Linked DNA regions of Homo sapiens: region 2 is linked to region 1. The links are contacts of gene promoters, found by promoter capture Hi-C in human tissues and cell types (Jung and others, 2019). All regions are on one chromosome and are shown on one strand. The core of a region is centred on a gene start or on the middle of the fragment in contact, and the rest is flanking DNA. Distances in the headings are between cores, read along the strand shown. Region 1 holds the start of RPL11 (ribosomal protein L11). Region 2 holds the start of PNRC2 (proline rich nuclear receptor coactivator 2).

Evidence for each region. The method cuts DNA at HindIII sites, captures the fragments that hold promoters and counts their contacts. A contact is called where the count stands out against the background at its distance.
Region 2: a contact is called between the fragment with the promoter of PNRC2 here and the fragment with the promoter of RPL11 in region 1, in 1 of the 25 tissues and cell types used here (pancreas).

The regions. Positions count from the first base shown.
Region 1 is chr1:23,688,726-23,695,222 of GRCh38, forward strand. RPL11 (ribosomal protein L11) reads left to right here and starts at 3,081. Exons shown (of 6, transcript NM_000975.5): 1 at 3,081-3,104; 2 at 3,884-4,034; 3 at 5,082-5,188; 4 at 5,935-6,066. The coding sequence starts at 3,099. RefSeq lists an enhancer at 3,043-3,362. The HindIII fragment of the contact is 10,512 bases long and covers 1-6,497 here.
Region 2 is chr1:23,956,025-23,961,856 of GRCh38, forward strand. It overlaps PNRC2 (proline rich nuclear receptor coactivator 2), which reads left to right and starts at 3,804. Exons shown (of 3, transcript NM_017761.4): 1 at 3,804-3,974; 2 at 4,905-5,110; 3 at 5,416-5,832. The coding sequence starts at 5,434. It overlaps LOC124903877 (a long non-coding RNA gene), which reads right to left and starts at 2,090. Exons shown (of 4, transcript XR_007065541.1): 1 at 2,078-2,090; 2 at 492-494. RefSeq lists enhancers at 2,034-2,662, 2,841-2,900, 3,801-4,070 and silencers at 2,981-3,080, 3,491-3,600. The HindIII fragment of the contact is 7,308 bases long and covers 1-5,769 here.

The sequences.
Region 1 (6,497 bases), core at 1,831-4,330:
CCCATCTGGGAAGTGAGGAGCGCCTCTTCCCGGCCGCCATCCCACCTGGGAGGTGAGGAGCGTCTCTGCCCGGCCGCCCATCGTCTGAGATGTGGGGAGCGCCTCTGCCCCGCCGCCCCGTCTGGGATGTGAGGAGCGCCTCTGCCCGGCCGCGACCCCGTCTGGGAGGTGAGGAGCGTCTCTGCCCAGCCGCCCCGTCTGAGAAGTGAGGAGACCCTCCGCCCAGCATCCGCCCCGTCTGCGAAGTGAGGAGCCCCTCCGCCCGGCAGCCGCCCCGTCTGAGAAGTGAGGAGCCCCTCTGCCCGGCAGCCACCCCGTCTGGGAAGTGAGGAGCGTCTCCGCCCGGCAGCCGCCCCGTCCGGGAGGGAGGTGGGGGGGTCAGCCCCCCGCCCAGCCAGCCGCCCCGTCCGGGAGGGAGGTGGGGGGGTCAGCCCCCCGTCCGGGAGGTGAGGGGCGCCTCTGCCCGGCCGCCCCTACTGGGAAGTGAGGAGCCCCTCTGCCCGGCCACCACCCCGTCTGGGAGGTGTACCCAACAGCTCATTGAGAACGGGCCGGGATGACAATGGCGGTTTTGTGGAATAGAAAGGGGGGAAAGGTGGGGAGAAGATTGAGAAATCGGATGGTTGCCGTGTCTGCGTAGAAAGACGTAGACATGGGAGACTTTTCATTTTGTTCTGTACTAAGATAAATTCTTCTGCCTTGGGATCCTGTTGATCGGTGACCTTACCCCCAACCCTGTGCTCTCTGAAACATGTGCTGTGTCCACTCAGGGTTAAATGGATTAAGGGCGGTGCAAGACGTGCTTTGCTAAACAGATGCTTGAAGGCAGCATGCTCGTTAAGAATCATCACCACTCCCTAATCTCAAGTACCCAGGGACACAAACACTGCGGAAGGCCGCAGGGTCCTCTGCCTAGGAAAACCAGAGACCTTTGTTCACTTGTTTATCTGCCGACCTTCCCTCCACTATTGTCCTATGACCCTGCCAAATCCCCCTCTGCGAGAAACATCCAAGAATGATCAATAAAAATTAAAAAAAAAAATACATTGTACAGTAATCTTTTAATCAAAACACTGCATCATAGGTGGAGACTGAAAGCCTGCCACTTGTGGTCGCTGTTTTTTGTTTGTTCGTTTGTTTGTTTTGAGACAGGGTCTTGCTCTATCACCCAGGCTGGAGTGCAGTGGTGTGATCTTGGCTCACTGCAAGCTTCTTCTCCTCGGTTCAAGCGATTCTCCTGCCTCAGCCTTCCGAGTAGCTCGGATTACAGGCATGCACCACCAGGCCCGGTTAATTTTTGTATTTTTAGTAGAGACGGGGTTTCACCCCGTTGGCCAGGCTGGTCTCGAACTCCTGACCTTAAGTGATCCACCCGCCTTAGCCTCCCAAAGCGCTGGGATTACAAGTGTGAGCCACAGCACCTGGCCTGGTTGGCGGGGCCGGGGTCGGGTGTGGTGGTGGGGGGAGGGGGGGTGGGTCGCTGTTGTTTCACAGCTGATCCAGGTTTTCTGGTGATGCTCCTCTGCTGCTTAGTTGCCCTGAACACATTACTTTTTCACTGTATTAATGACATAGCATATATTTTGCTGTTAAGAACTTATTTTTTATTTTTGAGACGGAGTCTCGCTCTGTCACCCAGGCTGGAGTGCAGTGGCGCGACCTCGGCTCACTGAAAGCTCCGCCTCCCAGGTTCACGCCATTCTCCTGCCTCAGCCTCCAGAGTAGCTGGGACTACAGGCGCCCGCCACCACGCCCGGCTAATTTTTTTTTTTTTTTTTTTTTGTATTTTTAGTAGAGACGGAGTTTCACCGTGTTAGCCAGGATGGTCTCGATTTCCTGACCTCGCGATCCGCCCGTCTCGGTCTCCCAAAGTGCTGGGATTACAGGCGTGAGCCACCGCGCCCGGCCGCTGTTAAGTACTTATATGTGAATAAGCGTAAGAAAGTATTGCTTATCAATAGCATATACATTTACAGTCTGGAAAAATGGTTAGGCCAACCAACCAGAGATTGTCCACAAGGGTGGCTGAGATAGTGACACCTTTGCTTTCTGATGGTTCAATGTACACAAACTTTGTTTCATGCACAAACTTACTTAAAATATTGTATAAAATTACCTTCAGACTATGTGTATAAGGTGTATATGGAACATAAATTAATTTCATATTCAGACTTGGGTTCCATCCCCAAGATATCTCATTATGTTTATGCGAATATTCCATAATCCGGAAAAATCCCAAATCTAAAAACCGTCTGGTCCCAGGCTTTTCAGGTTAGGAATACGCACCCTGTAGTAACTTGCCCAAGGTCACATAGCTACTAGCTGGTCGAGACAGGACCACATCTGCCTGTCTTCAAGCTCGGGACTCTTAAACCACCACTCCTTTCCGTTTGTATAAATTCTATTTGTGCCCGGAGTGGTGGCTCACGCCTGTAATCCCAGCACTTTGGGAGGCCAAGGCGGGTGGATCATTTGAGGTCAGGAGTTCCATACCAGCCCGACCAACATGGTGAAACCCCATCTCTACTAAAAATACAAACAAATTAGACCGGTATGGTGGTGCGTGCCTGTAATCCCAGCTACTTGGGAGGCTGAGGCAGGAGAATCGCTTGAACCCGGGAGGCGGAGGTTGCAGTGAGCCGATATCGCGCCACTGCACTTCAACCTGGGTGACACAGCGAGGCTCCGTCTCAAAAAATAAATAAATAAATAAATTATATTTGTTTACGTTGTTACAGAATAAATTTGCGTCATAATTTGCATGATTGATTTAATGTAGTTTTGGCGTTCTCATCACACAAGGACCACCAGCTCGTGACACTGGGAGGAGAGAACGTCCTCAAGGTCCGGAAACTCAAGGACGTGCTGATTCGGGAGCTTTCAAAAACTATTTTTGGAAAACCCAGATCCCGGTCTTCAGCCAGCGTCGCCTGCAGTGGCTAGCACTACCCACAAGGGAGAAGCCGACGCTGCAGGGCTTTGCCAAATGCGCCTCTCTTCCTCGTCTTCATCTCTGTGGTTAGCCTGGGAAAAGAGCCCGCCTCCTGGCCCATAAGGCCCTCGGCCGGAAGCTCCGCTTTCTCTTCCTGCTCTCCATCATGGCGGTGAGTAGCTGGGACCTGGATTTGCTTTCCTTTATCCGTCGCCATCCATGGCAGGCCGAGCCTGCGGGGGCTACTTCGCCCGCAGCCCGAGGAATATGGAGCCCGCAATGCCTGCTGGCCCAAAACTAGCAGAGCCGTTCGAGCCAAGGACGCAGGGTTGAATTCTGTCACTTTCCCTGCCATCGTTTTAGGAGCGGCTCCGGGCACTTGCCCGGAGTGCTCAGAAGCACGGTCAGGAGGCTGCAGCGGGGGCAGATGGGGTGAATGGAGGGTTCTGAGGCAGGGGGGTCCGGGCCTTTTCCTGGTCCCGGGGACTTGAGACTTGCTCGGTGCTAGGAAACCTTAGTCGGTTGCTCCGCTTAGGGAAGGTGCCAGCCTTTAGACAGCTTCCGAATAGGATGCTGGACGTCGCATAACCACGTGTTTCCTGTTAACTGAGCAATTAAGTTCTGTTTCTTCGCTCACTCCCCTTAGTTGGCCTTACAATGGGGGCGCTCTTTGTTACCCTGAGCCTCTTAGGGTTCGATCTCAGTGTCCGTATCTTTTAACACTCAATAACTGTCCTGAGTTTTCTCTTCACCCGTTCCGTTCGTGGAGGAAGGATAGGTTCCGAGCTGTCTTCTTCCCTTGATGTCCCCTAAACATTATACCTTTTAAACATTCAGGGTCTTCGTTACGATTTGGGATGAGCAGAAATAAAAATGCTGTGCAGATAGAAAGTAGTAAAACTCAGGGCCCTCAGCTGTGAGTGTATTGACTGCTGCTCTTCCCTGTTGCAGCAGGATCAAGGTGAAAAGGAGAACCCCATGCGGGAACTTCGCATCCGCAAACTCTGTCTCAACATCTGTGTTGGGGAGAGTGGAGACAGACTGACGCGAGCAGCCAAGGTGTTGGAGCAGCTCACAGGGCAGACCCCTGTGTTTTCCAAAGGTGAGTAGTCACAAGGACATACAGGGTTTGCCTGCTTGGGTCGCTTGGTTGTTTCTTGATTTACCTGCTGTCGAGTCTGTTTAGAAAGTGACAGTCGGCATCACTTAAAGCATTAAATTCATGAGCCGGCCAAGAGGTGTCTTTTTTTTTTTTTTTTATTCAAGATGGCGTGTGGGATTGGAACACTAGATTTTATTTGAGCAGATCTTAAGCTAAGACTAGCCCAAGTAAAGATTTTCCTAAGTAACTAGGATATGAGATAGAGTGGAAATGTCAGGAACGAAGTAAAGATCATTAGATCTGATTAGCAGTTAGGGTTATATAGGCTGCATTAAGAACAGGGCTGTACGGGAGCATGAGGCTTCAGTGGCCTATATTAGTGCCACTGCACTCCAGCCTGGTTGACCCTATCTCAAAAGTTGTATACAGATTGCCTGGGTTTGAGTGATGGCTTCACCATTTGCTGGTCTGACTCTGGGCTCTCTGGACCTCTGCTTTTTTCTTTGCATAAAGAGGGTAATACTTTATAATTGTGGAAGATAAAATGAGTTGTACATGTGTAGTTGCTTTAGGACAGTGAAATATGGCAAGTCTTTGGATTCCACTCCTGCTTTTTGTTACCAGCTGTGATGTTTGGCAAGTTAATAAACCTCTCAAAACCTCACCTGTAAAATATGGATAACAGTACAATAAGGTTTCAGCAAATAGTAGATGTTGTCAATAATGCTTTGTTTTCTTTGGAACATGATAATCTTACTAGTGGCTTCTTCGGCCTATTCTGGTTGTGACCTTGCCCTTCCTGGAACTTCGGCGTTATGACTGTTCTTAACTGCTGAAGGATGGCTGGATGTCTGGAAATGGGAAAATCTGTGCTGTGGATGAAATCTTATTAATAGATGTGGGAGACACTAATTAGAACACCACAACTTAAAAGAGTGTGGATGAATGCTTAATGTCTCTTTAAGTCATGGAGATGGTGTTCTGGGAAAGAGGTGAGTGTAGTGGGGGTATGATGGCATCTGACTCCTTGTTACCCACTTCCTGCAGCTAGATACACTGTCAGATCCTTTGGCATCCGGAGAAATGAAAAGATTGCTGTCCACTGCACAGTTCGAGGGGCCAAGGCAGAAGAAATCTTGGAGAAGGGTCTAAAGGTGAGCCTAATCCCCTAATGGAGTGATATTGATCAGCACTCCTTTAGTAACACATGTAGATAAGTTACATTTAATGTTCTGTTCTTTGGTGTCTTGATATTTATTTACTTAAGCTTCTAAAAGGCTTTTTCTACAATCAGCAGGGTTAAACTGTTCTTGGTGGTTTAAAAGATGCTTGAGGCTGGGCACGGTGGCTCAACGCCTGTAATCCCAACACTTTGGGAGGCCAAGGCGGTTGGATCATTTGTGGCCAGGAGTTCGAGACCATCCTGGCCAACATGGTGAAACACCATCTCTACTAAAAAAAGATAAAAATTAGCCGGGCTTGGTGGCGGGCTCCTGTAGTCCCAGCTACTCGGGAAGCTGAGGCACGACAATTGCTAGAACCTGGGAGGTAGAGGTTGCAGTGAGCTGATATTGTGCCACTGCACTCCAGCTTAGGCCACAGAGTGAGACTCTTGTCTCAAAAAAAAAAAAGAAAAAGGATGCTTGGGAGTCATTTCATGCCTCTGCTTTCTCTGGGTTTTTCTCTGCTCTTTGGAAGCTGGGAGAGGTCATACTGGGTAGTTGGGGTGTGAATCTATAGTCGAGGTATAGTGAGGAAGTCAGGTTGTGTTCTCAGCCAAGTTTCATTGACTTCTGTTTGCTCTGGGGTGCATGTTGCAGGCTGAGCTATTAATAGTTACTTGGGGGTGGGAGGGAGTTGAAGATGACAAGGAATGTTATTGCTGCATTTTTCTCCACAGGTGCGGGAGTATGAGTTAAGAAAAAACAACTTCTCAGATACTGGAAACTTTGGTTTTGGGATCCAGGAACACATCGATCTGGGTATCAAATATGACCCAAGCATTGGTATCTACGGCCTGGACTTCTATGTGGTATGAATATTTAATCTTTTCCCGCTCCTGGTCTGTGAGGAGAGGGGAATCTTTATTTCATATGTGGTATGTTGGTGTTCACATGTTGAGTTGCAGCTTTGAATATTGTCTGCCTTTGTGTTCTCCTCCCCCTTGGGGAAATGTGCCTCATTTGTGGCAAATGTAGGGGTGCAGCTCTGAACAAGGTGGACAAGATCCCTGCTGTTGGGGAACTTGCAGTCGAGGATCTGTAAAGCACCCACATGGCTTAAAGGTGGATGAAGGAAACTGTTCCCTCCAGCCAGTGATTTGAAACTTTGGAGAGAGGCAGTATTGGTGCCACATTTGGCCTATGGGTTGGTTGGCTGCACTGAGGCTGTTCTCCCCCTGGTTCTTCCTATAGAAACAGCTTTGGGTGATGCAGTGGTTTGCTCAGGAAGGGGGTTTTAACA
Region 2 (5,832 bases), core at 2,554-5,053, 270 kb after region 1:
GGATTGCCATTCTACAGATGAAGAAACTGAGACTCAGCCTGAAGGCCAGTCGATTCTACTATATACTTATTCCAAAGCCATGGCAAACCTGGGTGATTTCTCCAACTACCCCGGCACTGGTGCAGTTGTATGCCTCAGCCTACAACCTGTCTCTCCCCCAAAGCTGGGCTTTCAGAAACACTTTCTTTTTTTTTTTTTTGAGACAGAGTTCTGCTGTTGTTGCCCAAACTGGAGTGCAATGGCGCGATCTCGGCTCACTGCAACCTCTGCCTCCCGGGGTCAAGCGATTCTCCTGCCTCAGCCTCCCAAGTAGCTGGGATTACAGGCATGCGCCACACGTCCAGCTAATTTTTTGTATTTTTAGTAGAAACAGTGTTTCACCAAGTTAGCCAGGCTGGTCTCGAACTCCTGACCTCACGTGATCTGCCCACCTCGGCCTCCCAAAGTGTTGGGACTACAGGCGTGAGCCACTGTGCCCGGCCCAGAAACACTTGCTTTTTGCTCCACCTCTACTTACAGATTAGGTAGATAATGTTTTCCTAATGATTTCATTGATTTTGGTTGCCACTGATACATAGCTCAAAACAGATCCTCCAGTGAAAAAATTTCAGCAAGTTGTGAGAGTCCCCCTCCTTTTCTACTTTATTTGCAGGGTCCAGTAACAATGTTTGTTACCTGCACCTCCTGAGTGAGGTTAGCAGGCTGATTTTGGCCTTGCCTGTCCTTGACTCTCAGGGGAAGAAGGGAGGGAATAAATCTTCCCAGACACTAGTTTCCCTCTCTGGTAAATTGTAAAGGAAACAGCTTTTGGGTTCCTTTAGGGCCAGGATGGAGCCTCCTTCACTGCTGTATCCCCAGAGCGTGGCATAGTGCCTGGCACAAAGTAGGCACCAGATAAATCTTTGCTAAATATTTTGTATTAAACATCCATGTATTTATTATGCATTTGGCTTCCAGTTTAGGTGAGCTGTATCCTGAGAGCTGTTTGTCGGCATCAACATTTTCCTATTTGAATTGAGAACTGCTAATAGGATTGTGCTGGTGGAGCTGAGTTTAAAGACCATATGGTTCTGGCAGAGGCTGTATCAGATGTCCCAAAAAAGGTATTATTTTAACTTCTCCTCTCTAGTTCTGAGCTGTTGCGGGCACTTGGTAAATACTAATGAATGATGAGGCTGGAGCTAGCCTGAGAGGGTGCTGGGAGTCTGGGACGCAGTAAAAGCTTTAACAGTGCTTTCCCCAAGGGCATCTCGACTCTGACCTTCTGGCAAAGAAACTGGTTCTGCCAGATGGTAGGATGGAGGCTTCTTGTTGCCCGAACAGCCCCGGCAGCCCAGTCAACAGTCAGTGTCTGCTCTGAGCAAAAAACCTTTTAGGTGCTGGAGAGCACAGATGCTGCAGGCAACCTGCAGCCTGGCCTCTTGAATCCTAGTACCTGGCTTTCAACTCGAAACCGTCTGAGCCTTCATCTGTACAGTGCGGATGAAAACAGCTCCTACCTCACAACATTATTGTGAGGATTAAATGAAATGATGTAAGAAAAAAAAATTTAGCACAGGGTAGGGGGCAGAGTAAGGATACTCTGTGTGGGTTTATACATTTCCAATGTTATGTGTGCGTTTATGCAGATAAAATTCAGAGTGGCTGAAGAGATGAATTTTTTTTTTTTTTTTTTGAGACAGTGTCTTACTCTCACCCAGGAGTGCAGTGTTGTGATCGCAGCTCACTGCAGCCTCTACTTCCTGGGCTCGGGTGATTCTCCCACCTTAGTCTCTCAGGTAGCTGGGACTACAGGCGTGTGCCACCATGCCCAGCTAATTGTTATTTGTAGAGATGGGGTTTTGCCATGTTGCCCAGGCTGGTCTCAAACTCCCGCGCTCAAGTGATCCTCCTGCCTCGGCCTCCCAAATTGCTGAGATTACAGGTGTGAGCCATGCCCTGCCATGAAAAGACTAACTCTAGACTGCAATGGCTTTGAATAATTTTCTAAACGTTTAGAGTTTAGATTTTATTCCGTATCACAATTTGGAGCCACGGAAGTGTTTTTTTGTTTGTTTTTTGTTTTTTAAAGTGACACCATTAAAAATTCATTAAATACAGCTGGCTATTATCTGGCTAGACGTCTAAGCAAACTTCTTGAATGTTTGGAAAACAGATTACACTTTCACTAAGACACCTGTTGGTTTACCACATACTTCTTATTTGAATATGATTAGCATCAGAAAGTCCCTATGCTCAAAAATACCTCTTTTATCAAATTAGATTAACAAACTGCATCCCGTAAGATGCAGTAACTTTTCTTAAGATCCAATGGCTAGAATATAGGAATTTGGGTTGGATTGGGAAGTGGGGGATAACGGTGGCAAAAAATTGAAGATTAAAAAACGAAATACAGGCCGGGTGTGGTGGCTCACGCCTGTAATCCCAGCACTTTGAGTGGCTGAGACGGGCGGATCACGTGAGGTTAGGAGTTTGAGACCAGCCTGGCCAACATGATGAAATCCTGTCTCTACTAAAAATACAAAAATTAGGAGGGTGTGGTGGCAGGCGCCTGTAATCCCAACTACTCAGGAGGCTGAGGCAGGAGAATCGCTTGAGCCCAGGAGGCGGAGGTTGCAGTGAGCCGAGATTGTGCCACTGCACTCCAGCCTGGGCGACAGAAGGAGACTCCGTCTCAAAAATAACGAATTACATGAGATTTATAAAAAGTTGGTAAATATAAATTCTGTAACGTAAACTTGGGTATATATGTGTATACACGAACAAACTGTGAATGAGACTGATTTTGTACCGTTTGGCCCAGAATTATTCACGCTCATTGAAATTAGTGCTCTTTTAAAAGATTCACATTGGGTTACTTATACATTTACTCCAAAGAAATTGCCATTTTCCCCTTACCTGCATCTGGCTGGCATAATCAACTGAACAATATTCTCTTTCTTCCCCTTTTTCACTTACAAGTGGGGCAGAAAGGGGAGGAGAGCAGTCCTCATTCTTTCAGCAAACTTACTGTGCACTTACAACGCGCGAAGGCGCTGTGCTCAGAGAAACAAAACCTAACCGGTTGTGGCCCTCGAGGGTGTGTGGGTGGGGAGAGCTGCAGCCACAGGAAACGGTAACACGGCGCGTAAAGGGCTCTAATTGAACTTAAGGACCAATGGGGCCACCAAGCAGGAAGTGACTGACTTGCCCGCGTGTGTCTGAACCGCCTTCACAGGGAGGCAACTTTTGAGTAATTGCGGGGCTGGAGGGTGGGGGCACTGGAGGGAACCGCGGGGAGGCGCCGGCTTCGGACGCGGAGTTGTGGGTGTGGGAGAGAGGCGACCCAGAAGCCGAGGCCCGAGGCGGGAGGGGGCTGCGCCCTGGCAAGAGGCTTTCCGGAGTATCTTCCATCTGTCAATACAGGCTACAGGACTCAGTGGCCCTAATTCGAGAACCAAACGTCCCCCGCCGGTCAGTCTTTTCCCCCAGGGCAGTCCCAAGGGCGGCGAGCCCGCGCGCACGAGAGCCGAGCGGTAGGAAGAGCCGAGAGCTAGCGGCCGGGGCCTCGGCGGGCCAGGGGCGCGGAGAGGCCGCCGGAGAAAGGACTAAGACACCGGTGGACCGAGCAGTTACTCCCGGCATGCTCCTCCTCCCCGGGCAGATTTCAAACCCTCTGCAGCCCCACCTCCGCGCCTTCGCCCCCGGCCAGCCCCAGCAACAGGCGGCGGCCCGCTTCTCATTGGCCAGGCCCGCGCTGTCGTGTTTTGATTGGCCGCGGAGCCTCCCGGCCCTGCTTCTGCAGTCGCTGCCGACTCCATTTTGTCGGTAGAGGCAGAAGGAGAAGGTCGGGTTGTAGAAGCTGGGGTGGCCGGCAGCTCGCTCATCGGTGTTCGTGGGCTTTGTCGGTCCGTGCCTCGTCTCTCCCTGGAAAGGGAGGGAGGCTTCGACGTCGAGAGGGAGCCGCTGCCGCGTTAGTTCCGAGCTTGAAGTCAGTAAGTAGCGGCTGCGCTAAGGGCGCGGCCATGTTGGTGGCCGCGCTCCCCATTGTTGGAGGAAGGAGGCGAGCGGAGGCGAGATCCGGGTAACCCGGGCGGGCGCGGGCGGTCACGGGCGGTCGCAGCGCCGCGACCCCTGCGGCTCCGGAGAGATGGGGCCACTGGGAAGCCAAGCCCTTGTGGCGTCGGAGGAGGCGTTTTCCGGGTTCGAGTTGGGAATTACTCACAGTCCGGAAATGGCAATTTATTTAGGGTTGTTTATCTGTTTGGAAAGCTCTCTTACCCCTTTGAAAGGAGGGGGCTTAACTATTTGGTAACTTATTTTCTTGGAACATCAAATTAAAACCAAACCTTGAAAGTTAAGCTGTTCCCTCTAGGGAGACATTTTTATATATTTAAGATGGGCTTAGACTGTTAGGGCTTGTGAGAACTTATTTTAAGACGGGGAGGAGGCGAGAGCGTTCATAACCAAAGGAAACACTGCGTGATGTCTACATGTTCCAAGAGACTGAAAATGGATGTGACATGTGTGGAAAGATTGGAAAATTCTGGTGGGAGTTTAAAAACACGGTCTCTTTAGAAAATCCGCCTGAAGCCAATTTTTTGATATGACTCAACATTTAACACTTCCTTGATTTTATACGCGAGAGAATCTGAAGGTCTTTCCCAGGAAAAAGATAAAGATAAAACTTATTGCGGGACTTGGAGACACTTACAAAAATTCCCCAGGAGTGACTGGATCTCAAGGGTGAAGAGTTTTTTTAAATGGTCGTGGTTATAAGGTCAAAGAAAGCCATCTTACGAGAAATTTTCTACCTTTTAGTTCAGGAAGTAGCCTTCTTTACAGTCAACGATTTTCGTAGTAAATCTAAATGATCACTTTCTCAACGTGTTTTTGAAATAATGAAGTAATCTTTACTTTTCTAGCTAGGACTTCTCTCAAACTTGTGTGCTGAGGAGACTCAGATGTTGGCCTCAGCTCCTAGGCTGAACTCAGCAGATCGGCCCATGAAAACTTCTGTATTGAGACAAAGGAAGGGATCTGTCAGAAAGCAACACTTGTTATCTTGGGCTTGGCAGCAAGGAAGAGGACAGGTAGTGGAGATCCTGCAATCTGAAAAGCAGACTGAAAGGTAATCATCATAATGGGCAAACATTTTATGATGGAACCATCCTAAACCAATTGTTTTTATTTTAAAATAGATTATGTAGATTTGTGGGTAAGCTCATTTTTCTTAGGGAAGGTATAACAATAAAGGTTGTGCATATATTGAAGTCTGAACGGCTTGCTTTTTTGAGTTTAAAGCAGCTGAATAGCCTGTTATTGAGTCTTGTCCAAAATATCTGGAGTTATAAGTTGGAGCCATAGAAGCTTCTTAAAGATTTTGAACTTTTCTTAATGGAATTTTACTCAATATTTGTTTCCATTCACTTGTAGGTGACAAAGAAGCTGAAGATGGGTGGTGGAGAGAGGTATAACATTCCAGCCCCTCAATCTAGAAATGTTAGTAAGAACCAACAACAGCTTAACAGACAGAAGACCAAGGAACAGAATTCCCAGATGAAGATTGTTCATAAGAAAAAAGAAAGAGGACATGGTTATAACTCATCAGCAGCTGCCTGGCAGGCCATGCAAAATGGGGGGAAGAACAAAAATTTTCCAAATAATCAAAGTTGGAATTCTAGCTTATCAGGTCCCAGGTTACTTTTTAAATCTCAAGCTAATCAGAACTATGCTGGTGCCAAATTTAGTGAGCCGCCATCACCAAGTGTTCTTCCCAAACCACCAAGCCACTGGGTCCCTGTTTCCTTTAATCCTTCAGATAAGGAAATAATGACATTTCAACTTAAAACC